3 separate regions of the Homo sapiens genome follow, and all the other regions are linked to region 2. The links are contacts of gene promoters, found by promoter capture Hi-C in human tissues and cell types (Jung and others, 2019). All regions are on one chromosome and are shown on one strand. The core of a region is centred on a gene start or on the middle of the fragment in contact, and the rest is flanking DNA. Distances in the headings are between cores, read along the strand shown. Region 1 overlaps PKP2 (plakophilin 2). Region 2 holds the start of PKP2 (plakophilin 2). Region 3 has its middle 95 kb from the start of PKP2.

Region 1 (3,511 bases), core at 391-2,890, 70 kb after region 2:
CAGTATATAACAGTATGCAGTTTTAGTTTTCTTAAAGGTCTGCAGATATTTACTCAGACTTAGGCTTGATTATACCAGAGGAAATAAACCCATCGTTTAATCAAATGCAAACGACAGGCACTAAATTACACGTTTTTAATATATTCTATTGGTAACTTTAATAAGCACTATTTATTAAGTAACTACCATGTTTGTATGCTCATTCTCTTTTAATTTTCGATAAGGTAATTGTTTCAGTATATTTCACTTACAGTTTTGAGATATTTTTCTATTGAGCCACCATTGGGTAATGTATGGGAAACCAATCAATAAATAGTTCTTATGATTCAAGAGATACGTTGTAAAAAAGATCAATTCTGCCTAAAGGTAGCCATGTTAATTTTCTGATTCCCACAAGCTTAAGTACTAGCTGTTAAAAAAAAATATTTTAAGATGGATGTATCATTTTCTATAGTTATTGGTTATTTTCGGAATGGTGCAATAACAAATTACTTTCTGTCTAATGACTTCTATTCATGGATGCAGTGGTATAAAATAATCTACCCTTATCATTCATATTTCTGTGTAGTTGAGTAAGGTGGGAACTATTTTTGATATGCAGGAGCAAATACTAAAGCAATGGGGTTCCATGCACTTTCTGTCAGCAAAAGTATCAACTGCCAGAAACCCCTGATAAGTCCCATTTCAAGCAAGTAGAGTCTGGATAATACCAAACAGCAAGACAACAGTTAGTACTTGTGAACTGGCAGTACTGCCAACTTGACTTACCATTCTAACCCGAAATAAACACCCCGGAGTTAAACAAAGCTAAGTCATCCATCTGCAAGGTATGTAGTGGGCTTAGCCAGGAAGAAAGACTTTTTGATTTGTCAAAGCAATTTTAAACTACTGCCATTTATCCTGGCCAGAGGTTGAAAAGGCCAAAGGGAAGCTTTTAAACATATGATAACATCATGTAGTTGGGGACATATGGTATTTGCAGACTGAATGAATGCTAGCTGGGATTTGCTCTGTTCTGGGCCACCCTGGGTGTAGAATAAAGAACAGCCCTCTTTTCCTGACTTTACCACTAATTTGCTGTCACCAGGAAAAGTAACGGAAACTTTTGGCTTCTAGTTTTTCATGTATAAAATAAGGAGACTGGAAAAGATGCTTTTTCAGTTTCTGTCAAGCTTCTGAATCCCCATGATTCTTAAAGGGCTCACAAAGTAGATAGAGGATCTTGGTTGAAATGATCATTCTTTGAAAAAAGCTAAGTAAAAAATTGTTTTATTTCCAGCTTATGAACCCATTCATTTTTTTTTAAATGAACAAACTGTCCGAGTTTTTCAGGTACAGTAAAAATTAATAAGGAAGTAGAAGGGTCAAATGAGAATCAGTCACAGAAGAGATTTTGTTAAAAAATTCATTGTATCAATTCAGCAACCATTAAATTGTTAGTATATTCTTAGTTTTAGGTATGTTATCTCCTCAACTGTCACGTTGAATCATGAAATTGCCATTTTTGAGGGTTAAAACAGTCGGGTTTTGTCAGTTTCCAGAGTTCAACCTATAGATATGATCTCTGTGAAAGCAAGGTATAATATTGTGCATCTTCCTCTCATTCCCTTTAGTTCTTTTTTTTTTTTTTTTTTTTGAGACGGTGTCTAGCTTTGTCACCCGGGCTGGAGTGCAGTGGCACGATCTCGGCTCACTGCAAGCTCCACCTTCCGAGTTCACACCATTCTCCTGCCTCAGCTTCCCGAGTAGCTGGGAATACAGGCGCCCACCACCATGCCTGGCTAATTTTGTTTGGTACTTTTAGTAGAGACGGGTTTTCACCATGTTAGCCAGATGGTCTTGATCTCCTGACCTCATGATCCGCCTGCCTCGGCCTCCCAAAGTGCTGGAATTACAGGTGTAAGCCACCACACCCAGCCACCTTTAGTTCTTGATGTAATGCTTAGGCACCTTTGTTTCTTTGACAAATATGCACTGAAAGCAGTATTTTGAGGCAGAAGGCCTTTTGGAAATCACTTATATTATATTACTTTATTTTGTTAATTTTTTAGACAGGGTCTTACTCTGTCACCCAGGCTGGAGTGTAGTAATGCTCACTGCAGCCTCAACCTCCAGGCTCAAGCAATCTTCTTCCTCAGTCTCCCAGGTAGCTGGGACTACAGGCACATGCCACCATGCGTAGCTAATTTTTTGTATTTTTTCATAGAGACAGGGTTTAGCCATGTTGCCCAGGCTGGTCTTAAACTCCTGGGCTCAAGCAGTCCTCCTGCCTTAGCCTCCCAGAATGCTGGGATTACAGGCATGAGCCACAGCTTCTGGCCTATATTATTTTAAAGATGAAGAAAGTAAGGCTCAAAAATGTCTCAAAGTTGCAGTTCTTTTTGATGTTCAGAATGACACTAACACATTATAAAGAAAAAGTCCTGAACATATTCTGGATATTCTACCTACCAGTAAAAGAAACTGATCTGGGCCAGGCGTGGTAGCTCACGCCTGTAATCCCAGCACTTTGGGAGGCCAAGGCGGGCGGTTCACAAGGTCAAGAGATAGAGACCATCCTGGCCAACCAACATGGTGAAACCCCGTCTCTACTAAAAATACAAAAATTAGCTGGGCATAGTGACGCACGCCTGTAGTCCCAGCTACTCGGGAGGCTGAGGCAGGAGAATCGCTTGAACCCGGGAGGTGGAGGTTACAGTGAGCCGAGATCGCGCCACTGCACTCCAGCCCTGGTGACAGAGTGAGACTCCGTCTCAAAAAAAAAAAAAAAAAAAAAAAAGAAACTGATCTGATACATTTTATAGGGACAGTTCTTAGCAATTAAAGTTGGGAATAGAGGTGATTCTCAAGTTCTTAAAACCTGAAGGCCCTATTTTTTGTCATTCTTGTTGACTGAGGTATTGACATTTTTGGAAAAAAAAATATTTTTTTAAGTAGTTAATGCTAGTAAGAAAAACTTAATCTAAAGGAAGGTAGTAACAATAATACCAGACTATACACATGATCTGAATCTGCACTGTAATCCCCAAATGCATTACTTTCCTGTATTTGATAAGTTTCATTTCTCTATCAGTAAACAACTTCCAATTATAGGTTTAGTTACTGTTTATAGAAAGGTGTCATGACTTAGCAATATTAGAAATAGACTAAGTGTAAAGATATTTATAGGTCATACTTTTGACTGAAGCCTTACACACTGCAAACTCTCATGTTTTCTGTAACATCTCTCTGCCATTTTAATGATAAAATAATCGCATTTTAGAGCATCTGATTTAATATTTGTCAATAACAGTTTATACTGAAATTTAGAAAACCACAAAGAATGTAGTCCAACACACTGTCTTTACAAGTGAGGAAACTGAGGCCCAGAGCAACTTTAAGTTACTTAAAGTTAAAACATGGGGCAAATTGGGACTTGGCATCCAGTATATTATAATGTCTAATGTGCCATTTGCTCTTGTTCTAGTTGCAAAAACATTTGCCTCATATCCACACTCAAAATGGAGTGAAG
Region 2 (3,402 bases), core at 469-2,968:
ATTGTCTCTCAAAGCAGCAGATTCTGGTCTGCCAGAAGAGGCCATGAAAAGAGAGAGAGAGAGAGAGAGAGAGAAACAGGAATGTTGCTGGACGTTTCTATCATCACTTACCTTCAGTTCACCCCTCTCTTTTCAATTACATCTCAGCATCATGGTTGGATGTTTCCACCTGGCTACATAAGCAAGCTTTACACAAGGTGTAATTTGCCTAAATAGTGGTCCATTCTATTGGGGTGGGAGCAATTGCTTCCAGGACTCACATCCATATGGCTCCCACTTAGCCATGTGGCCTGCTGACAAAGGGTGGCGGAACTGTCACTACTCTGTTGTCCACGCTTTCAGTCCTTTGGTTTCCTCTTCACTCCCTGGACGCTCATGTAAAAAGGGAGGCCATATACCTGTGCATTGTGTGTCTAAGCATTCAGTGTGTGTCTAAAGGCAGAAGGGTGTGGGTAGGAAAACAAAGACGAGGGAAGCTGCGTTCTCCAAACACTTCAGACTTGAGTAAGTGGGGTTTTGCAGCAATTGAGTGATTTGAGGGAAAGTGAACATACAAACCCAAGCAATCAAAGGGAATATTATCTTAATACCAGGGATACATGTTTTTCTTTCTGCCTCTTAAGTCCAAAGAGGCAAATCAGGACAAGTGGCTTTGGTTGTAAACTTTAAGGTCAAGGATCCTTTCTGTTGAGCTTAGCTCTCAAGTTCTCAGTAGTCAACTGCGGTGAAACATAATTAATAGCACGATAAATACAAGTTGTGGAAGATTCGATTGAAAGTTGGAGGCCCTCTCCGTGGATCTCTCTACAAAGAGCCTGTAATAAAGAGGACTTAATCAACGTTAGCAGGGCTATTTAAAAAGCATCGTCTATTAAAATTCATTTCTTCTCTAGAGCCTCTTGTTGGAGTTTCTCTGTGTGGGTGTGTTCGTAAGAGAGGAATGGGTTAGCAAGAGTACTGGGTACAATTTGTGTATCCAAGAGAAAACAGAAGCTCTCAATGAGGAAGAACATATGTTTCTGGGACTGCATCTGTGCAAAAAGTACATAGTCCTGACGTTGTACTAAGAAAAAAAACACTCTCTTTAGAAAGTCTTTTATTTCACACGTTATCTTCTTGGCACATTTCCCTCATATTGCCCTTTCCGCCTGACCAAATAGCCCTTTCTCACCCTCAGGTCCAGGAAAACCAGGAAACGTTTCCAACAGTGCGACAAAGCCTGACTAACCAGACATACTACTCGCTCGGGGATCCCGGAGGCAAGCCTCAGTCCAAGAACAGGAGTGACTCTCGAGGGCTCACCTGCCTGCAGGGCAGCCCCTCCCTGCATCGAGCGGAAATCCATCCTGTCCAGCGCGGGGCGTGGGCAGAGCGGGGCGCGGCCCCGGCAGGCGGTATCCGCTGGGACTCCGACAACGTGCGCGACCCCAGGCGAACCGCGCCCCTCTCCCCACCTCCCCGCGGGCGGGTACAAGTCTCCAGGTGTCCGCGCGCTCAGCGGGTCCGGCCCGCCCCCGCCCCCGCCCCCGGGCCCGACTGCGCGTGCCCGGCCGGAGCCGCGCCCCCTCCTCAGGGAAGGCCGGGCGTCCGGCCCACGAGGCCGAGCTCCCCCCCGGCCCGGGCCTCTCACCGGCGCGGGGGGCGGGCCAGGGGCGGGGCCGGACTCGAGCGGGGCGGGGCTCGCGCCAGCGCCCCCAGCTCCGTGGCGGCTTCGCCCGCGAGTCCAGAGGCAGGCGAGCAGCTCGGTCGCCCCCACCGGCCCCATGGCAGCCCCCGGCGCCCCAGCTGAGTACGGCTACATCCGGACCGTCCTGGGCCAGCAGATCCTGGGACAACTGGACAGCTCCAGCCTGGCGCTGCCCTCCGAGGCCAAGCTGAAGCTGGCGGGGAGCAGCGGCCGCGGCGGCCAGACAGTCAAGAGCCTGCGGATCCAGGAGCAGGTGCAGCAGACCCTCGCCCGGAAGGGCCGCAGCTCCGTGGGCAACGGTGAGTGGAGCCCGCCGCTCCCCGGCGCCGCCCCCTGCCCCACACCCGGTCACCTCCTCCTATCCCGCCCTCACCCCGCGTGCTGGGAGTGCGGGACCCCGTGTTCTGCCCACCTGTTGCTCGCCGTCTTCGGTATGACCGACTTGCTTGTGGAAAGCACTCTTTTCCATAACCTATTACTCAGCTTTGTCATATAGGTACCTATGTATATTAAATATTGTACATATCTATCAATGTTAACTAACTCACTTCAAGATTTCACCCCTTTCTTTTTCTACTCCGCCGGTCCGCGCCCCTCACTGGTGCGGACTTAATTTGAAGGTTCAGGGAGTCTATAAACACCTTGAGATGCTATGCAGAATTTTTGGTGTGTACGATCTTTTTCTGGGAGAAGGAGCCCTTCAATTTTATTAGATTTGTTAAATAATTAATGACCCCCATAAATATCTTGGGGAAAAAAACCGACAGCACTGGCGCTCCTACAACCTATAAATTGGGATTGTGCTGTCTTATGCAAGTACTTCGGGGCGCTCCACCCTGTGTGGGAGGCGAGTGGTGGATCTAGGGAGTGAAGAAAAGTAGTTAGGAGGCTTTGGTCCAGGGAACAAACACGCCGAGGAGGAGGTAGGGGACTTTGGCCCTGCCGGCAACAGCCGTGCCCGCCTAGCTGCGCTTCCTACCCCCACCAGTGCGGGCGTGATGCAAGTCTGATCCCTCCAAAAAATTAAACCCGAAGGTGAAAGGGGTGTAAGCACACACATGCACACTATGTTCATGATTGATAGACGGGGGAGGTGGAAGGGAAAGAAGATGGCAAGCCACTTGTGAAAATTAGAGATCATGATGTATCCTTTTCTCCCCTGCTGAAGTCAGGTGATGGGATCAACTCAGTGACCCTTGTTTTACTTCTTGTTGCTGTGTATGTGAGTTTGCATTATAAAAGCACTATGTTGGCTTATAGCAAAAAGAAGAGGAAAGAAATTGAGCAATTAAGTTGGAATATCTGTTTCCTGCAACGTTCAGTTGTTTCTGTATGAAGTAACTTGGGCATTGGCGAATGTAGGCTAACCCATTCTAGTTTCTATTAGGAAAACAGAAAAATTCTAACAGGCCAGACCAGAGATTTCAAACAGCAGAGTCTGGGAGGCTGTACTGTGTGTGTAAAAGAATCCTAAAGGATGACGTAGTCAATATTAACATACTTGAAAGGTAAAGAGAAGATGTTCAATGATCGTAGTTAATATAACTGAGTGCATACTATGTGCCAAGAATTGGGCGATGTGGTTTGCATTCATTTGAGATATATATATATATATGTATTTAAAAACTTGTGAGTTAGGTATTTTCATCCTCATTTTACAGATGAGGAAACTAAGCAGTTAAGTAACACTGAAGCTCTAATAGATGGTAAGTGGC
Region 3 (3,776 bases), core at 54-2,553, 96 kb before region 2:
ATCGATACCCCTCCCCCAAACATCTTTCTCTGTCCCCCACCCCTTACTTAAGCATCCTTATCCAAACTACAATGGCTCCAGGGTCTAGACGGTTGTCCAAGAGGGTCCAATAGCTTATCGTACCCTGCAAAAAATAATCACAGGACTTCCACTGACCATTCCATATCAGGGGACAGAAACACACACTGGAATATGCCATCTGCTTTTGTCCTCAACCTCATGGCACCTTTTAACTGTCTTTTAAATTAATAACATCTTCTGAAACATGAGAAAAAGAGAATTTTTTTTATTTGAAATAGTGCCAATACTAAATGAGTAAGTCTGAAGTGAGTTAGTCATAAACATGTCACCTGGCTCAGAGAATTTTATATCCAAATCACCATCCCACAGCGGTGTCTTTGCAGTTTCTCTTGGCTCACTGTGCTATTTTTGAAGCCTTATAATGTTGCCCTCAGAAAGAGCCTGCAAGAAAAGAAGTCGAAAGAAAAGACTAATCTAATAAAAATCAAAATGAGGCTGCATGCCAAACACGACAAAATAAAACATTTATCTCTCCCAGGGGTCTGCCATAGCCGGTTCTTATGGCTCATATACTGCTGACAAGTTTTATGTTGTCTTGATTACATCCAAAGCAAAATTGCCCCAAATTATTTAATCATATGCATGCCAGGAATGCACTATATCTGACAAATATAAAGTGAAATCTACTGCCTTTGTTTTCCCCAGGTTTCAATATGCAATTGTGTAGACTTTCTAAGTAACATGAATGTGTAAAATAGGTGTAAATTAAAATATTAAAAATTCAGGTCGATTCATTTGGGTGAATAATTCAAATGTGACACTTCATAGCTGTGTACTCCTAGAAAATTCTCATTAGACCTTAGTAAAAGTGCTCTAATGTACATAGTATTATATATGTGGTCATAAAAGATCTTCAGGTTGGGAGACTTATTTTCTTGTGAGACTTCCCCACTGTACCCTAACCCATTTATAGTGCAATGTAGAATTCTTTATAGCTATATGAGAACTTAAATAGCAGCAAGTCCAATTGCTCATTTCAAAGATGAGAAATAAACGAAATGCAGCAAAGTAGTCTTTTTGGGTTAAATCTTTCCGAAAATGTACTTTAAAAATCTCAACCCAAGAAAATGTTTATAAGGGCTTTAGTCACTTGAGTCTAGCCTCAGAGGCCTGTAAGAAAATGCATTTTTGTCACCAAGCAACAGGAAATATGATGCAAAAGACTGCATGTTTGTCTCCCCCAAGGGACTGAATTCATCAAACAAAAGTACCATGTTCCATTATCTTTATATCTTTAACGATATACATAATAGACATTAAATAAGGAGACATATACCAAATATTCCTCCTGCTCACCCTATTTCAAGAACAATTCGTCAGATCTTCCACATAATTCTCCCCAGTTATGGATTGTGTCAGCACCAGATACCAAATATTACATGTAAATTAAATACTGTAGAACTATTTTTAGTAGCACAGACCACTATTCGTAGTTGGTGGTCTTGACTAGCTGCTGAATTAATTTCTGCCTGTGCATAAAGAGAATATACAGAAGACAGCACAGAGTTGAAAAATATCCATTTACTTATAAGTGCCCAACTGTGGGTACTGCACATAAAACCATTCTCTTTAAAAAGAATATTCTCTAAATGCATAAAGATCTTGGAATTTGGTTGGGTTTACCTTATCCCTCATAATAAAAAATCACTATCTCAGTTCTTATGCACTAATTATGGTAAAGCATCCTAAATTGTGCAGTAGGCATTGTCTTTTTTGCCTATGAATTACATTTTATCTTGCTATCATTGGTTTGCTGGGTGAACTATTAAGAGCTTATTGCTATTCAGACATAAATGATAGCTTTGACCACCCTTTTTACCCACCCTAAAATGTATTTTTATGCTAAAGCTATCCAAATGAGTGATTTTAAATATAATTATTATATATATAATATATGATTATATGGAAGTTAATATGGTTATGTCAATAAGTAGTTTGTAACTGCCAAGGAAATATTATTTTTTAAAGTTTTTCTCACTGTTTTTAATAGAGGGGTAATAGTTCCTGTAAGAATCTCTAAGCAGTTTTACAGAGAATAATTTCACTAACCATTGCAGTATACTTCTCTGAAAATGAGATTCTTAAAGGAGTGAGATGCTGGCAGACTGCACTGAGGGTGGTGATGAGCTCTGGGAGATAAAGACCTGACCCTCCCCATACTGCTCAGACTGGGAAACTTTTATAGTTGTCTCTACAACTGTTCCAATATATGAAGGCACACTTCACCTAACATGTGCAGACTTAGAGCATGTATGTTCAATATATGAATGCACATTTCACCTAGCATGTGCAGACTTACTACCAGCAAGAGTAACCACTAAGGGGGCTTTGAAGCATCAATCTTAATATAGTTCAAGTTCTGCCAAGGGAAAAATCTAAACATTTGAAGGACCACAGCAGATGCTGTTGCCACACTCCCTCCCGTATCCCCTCAGCCTCAACTCTGAGTTCCTGTAGCTGTCATGGACAATGAGCACGTTGATAACTTCCCACCTCAAATACTCTTCCCTATCTCTCCACCTGCGGGCTCTGTCTCCCCTAGGAGAGATTGCTTAGGCTACTTGCGTGCACAGTTGGCAGTGTAAAATTCTTAACTTTATTCCACTTTGGATGTGCTTTGCAGTTCCTATTCCTGCTAATATGGTGCAAAGCTACTATAAGCAAGGTTCTCTCAATCCATACTTGTCAGCAATCTGGAAGTGCTAGGAATTCCACACAAAGAGCAACCCTCAACCAATGAGGAGAGGGAGTAGGTAGATAAATACCACAATTTCCTTGCCCCTCAGCAGAACAAGTCTAAGTTCCTGAGTGTGTCCCCAGCTAGACAGAACCCTATTTCCTACACAGGTAATCCACCTCTATGAATGCACCCTCAAGTGGCTTTTCTCCTGAGAAAAGAAAAATAGCTCAGAGCTGTCTGAGCTACCTGGGGTATACAAAATTTACCAGGCACTAAGAAACATGGTTCTGTCCAGCGCCTGAACCCATGCCTGGAGGCAATTGTTTAAAAGCATTTTTTTCGTGACTAGGGGTCTCACCCACAGTCTTCCAATTCCTGGAATATGTGATACAAAGAACAATGTACAGCCAACCACTAGCTTTAGTAATCTTAATGTAAATCTTGGTAAACAACTTAGGAACTGCCTCTTCTTTTTCCTTAAAAACCCACTTGTAAAGGCTGCTAACCAAAATGTATATCCTGGGCAACTTGAATCTATGCTCCTGGGTGGCCCTTCTCAAACTTTAGGCTTGAATACACGCTCTTTGAACTAGATTTTGACCTTTTTGTTTGTTCTAGGTCCACACTCCCTGTCTTCACTCACTTTCTTAGCTCCTTCCTTTGTGCATCCTGGAATCCTCCCAGATAAACTACCCACCTCCAAGTACTGCTTTCTGGTTCTGCTTTTGAGGGATCATAACTAAGACAAAACCTTCCTTCAAAGTCAGTGGTAATGGGCAAATTTAAGGGAGTTAATGGGGTTAACTATTAAGTTAGTGGGGTTAGTGGAGAGAGAAGGGGAGGAAGAAAGAAGCGTCACCTTTTACTTAGCTGAAAATGTGTTCCAGTCATGATATTCACAAACGTACCTCTTATGCTAGGAAGATCTTATAAAAGACATATTCTCTATTTTCAAATGATGGCTGTTTTCAGCACAGTTTCTGGGGCTATATGTCCACTGACATTTTCCTTATGA

What was found. The method cuts DNA at HindIII sites, captures the fragments that hold promoters and counts their contacts. A contact is called where the count stands out against the background at its distance.
Region 1: a contact is called between a fragment that was not itself captured here and the fragment with the promoter of PKP2 in region 2, in 5 of the 25 tissues and cell types used here (bladder, dorsolateral prefrontal cortex, heart left ventricle and 2 more).
Region 3: a contact is called between a fragment that was not itself captured here and the fragment with the promoter of PKP2 in region 2, in 2 of the 25 tissues and cell types used here (hippocampus and neural progenitor cells).

What each region holds. Positions count from the first base shown.
Region 1 is chr12:32,824,431-32,827,941 of GRCh38, reverse strand. The region is part of intron 6 of PKP2 (plakophilin 2); the gene reads left to right. Among named protein-coding and RNA genes, the nearest start is that of YARS2, 70 kb to the right of the region's middle. The HindIII fragment of the contact is 3,690 bases long and covers 1-3,485 here.
Region 2 is chr12:32,895,093-32,898,494 of GRCh38, reverse strand. It overlaps PKP2 (plakophilin 2), which reads left to right and starts at 1,718. Exons shown (of 13, transcript NM_001005242.3): 1 at 1,718-1,986. The coding sequence starts at 1,764. RefSeq lists silencers at 1,310-1,409, 1,610-1,719. The HindIII fragment of the contact is 8,511 bases long and covers 1-3,402 here.
Region 3 is chr12:32,990,250-32,994,025 of GRCh38, reverse strand. No RefSeq gene overlaps it. Among named protein-coding and RNA genes, the nearest start is that of PKP2, 95 kb to the right of the region's middle. The HindIII fragment of the contact is 9,353 bases long and covers 1-3,776 here.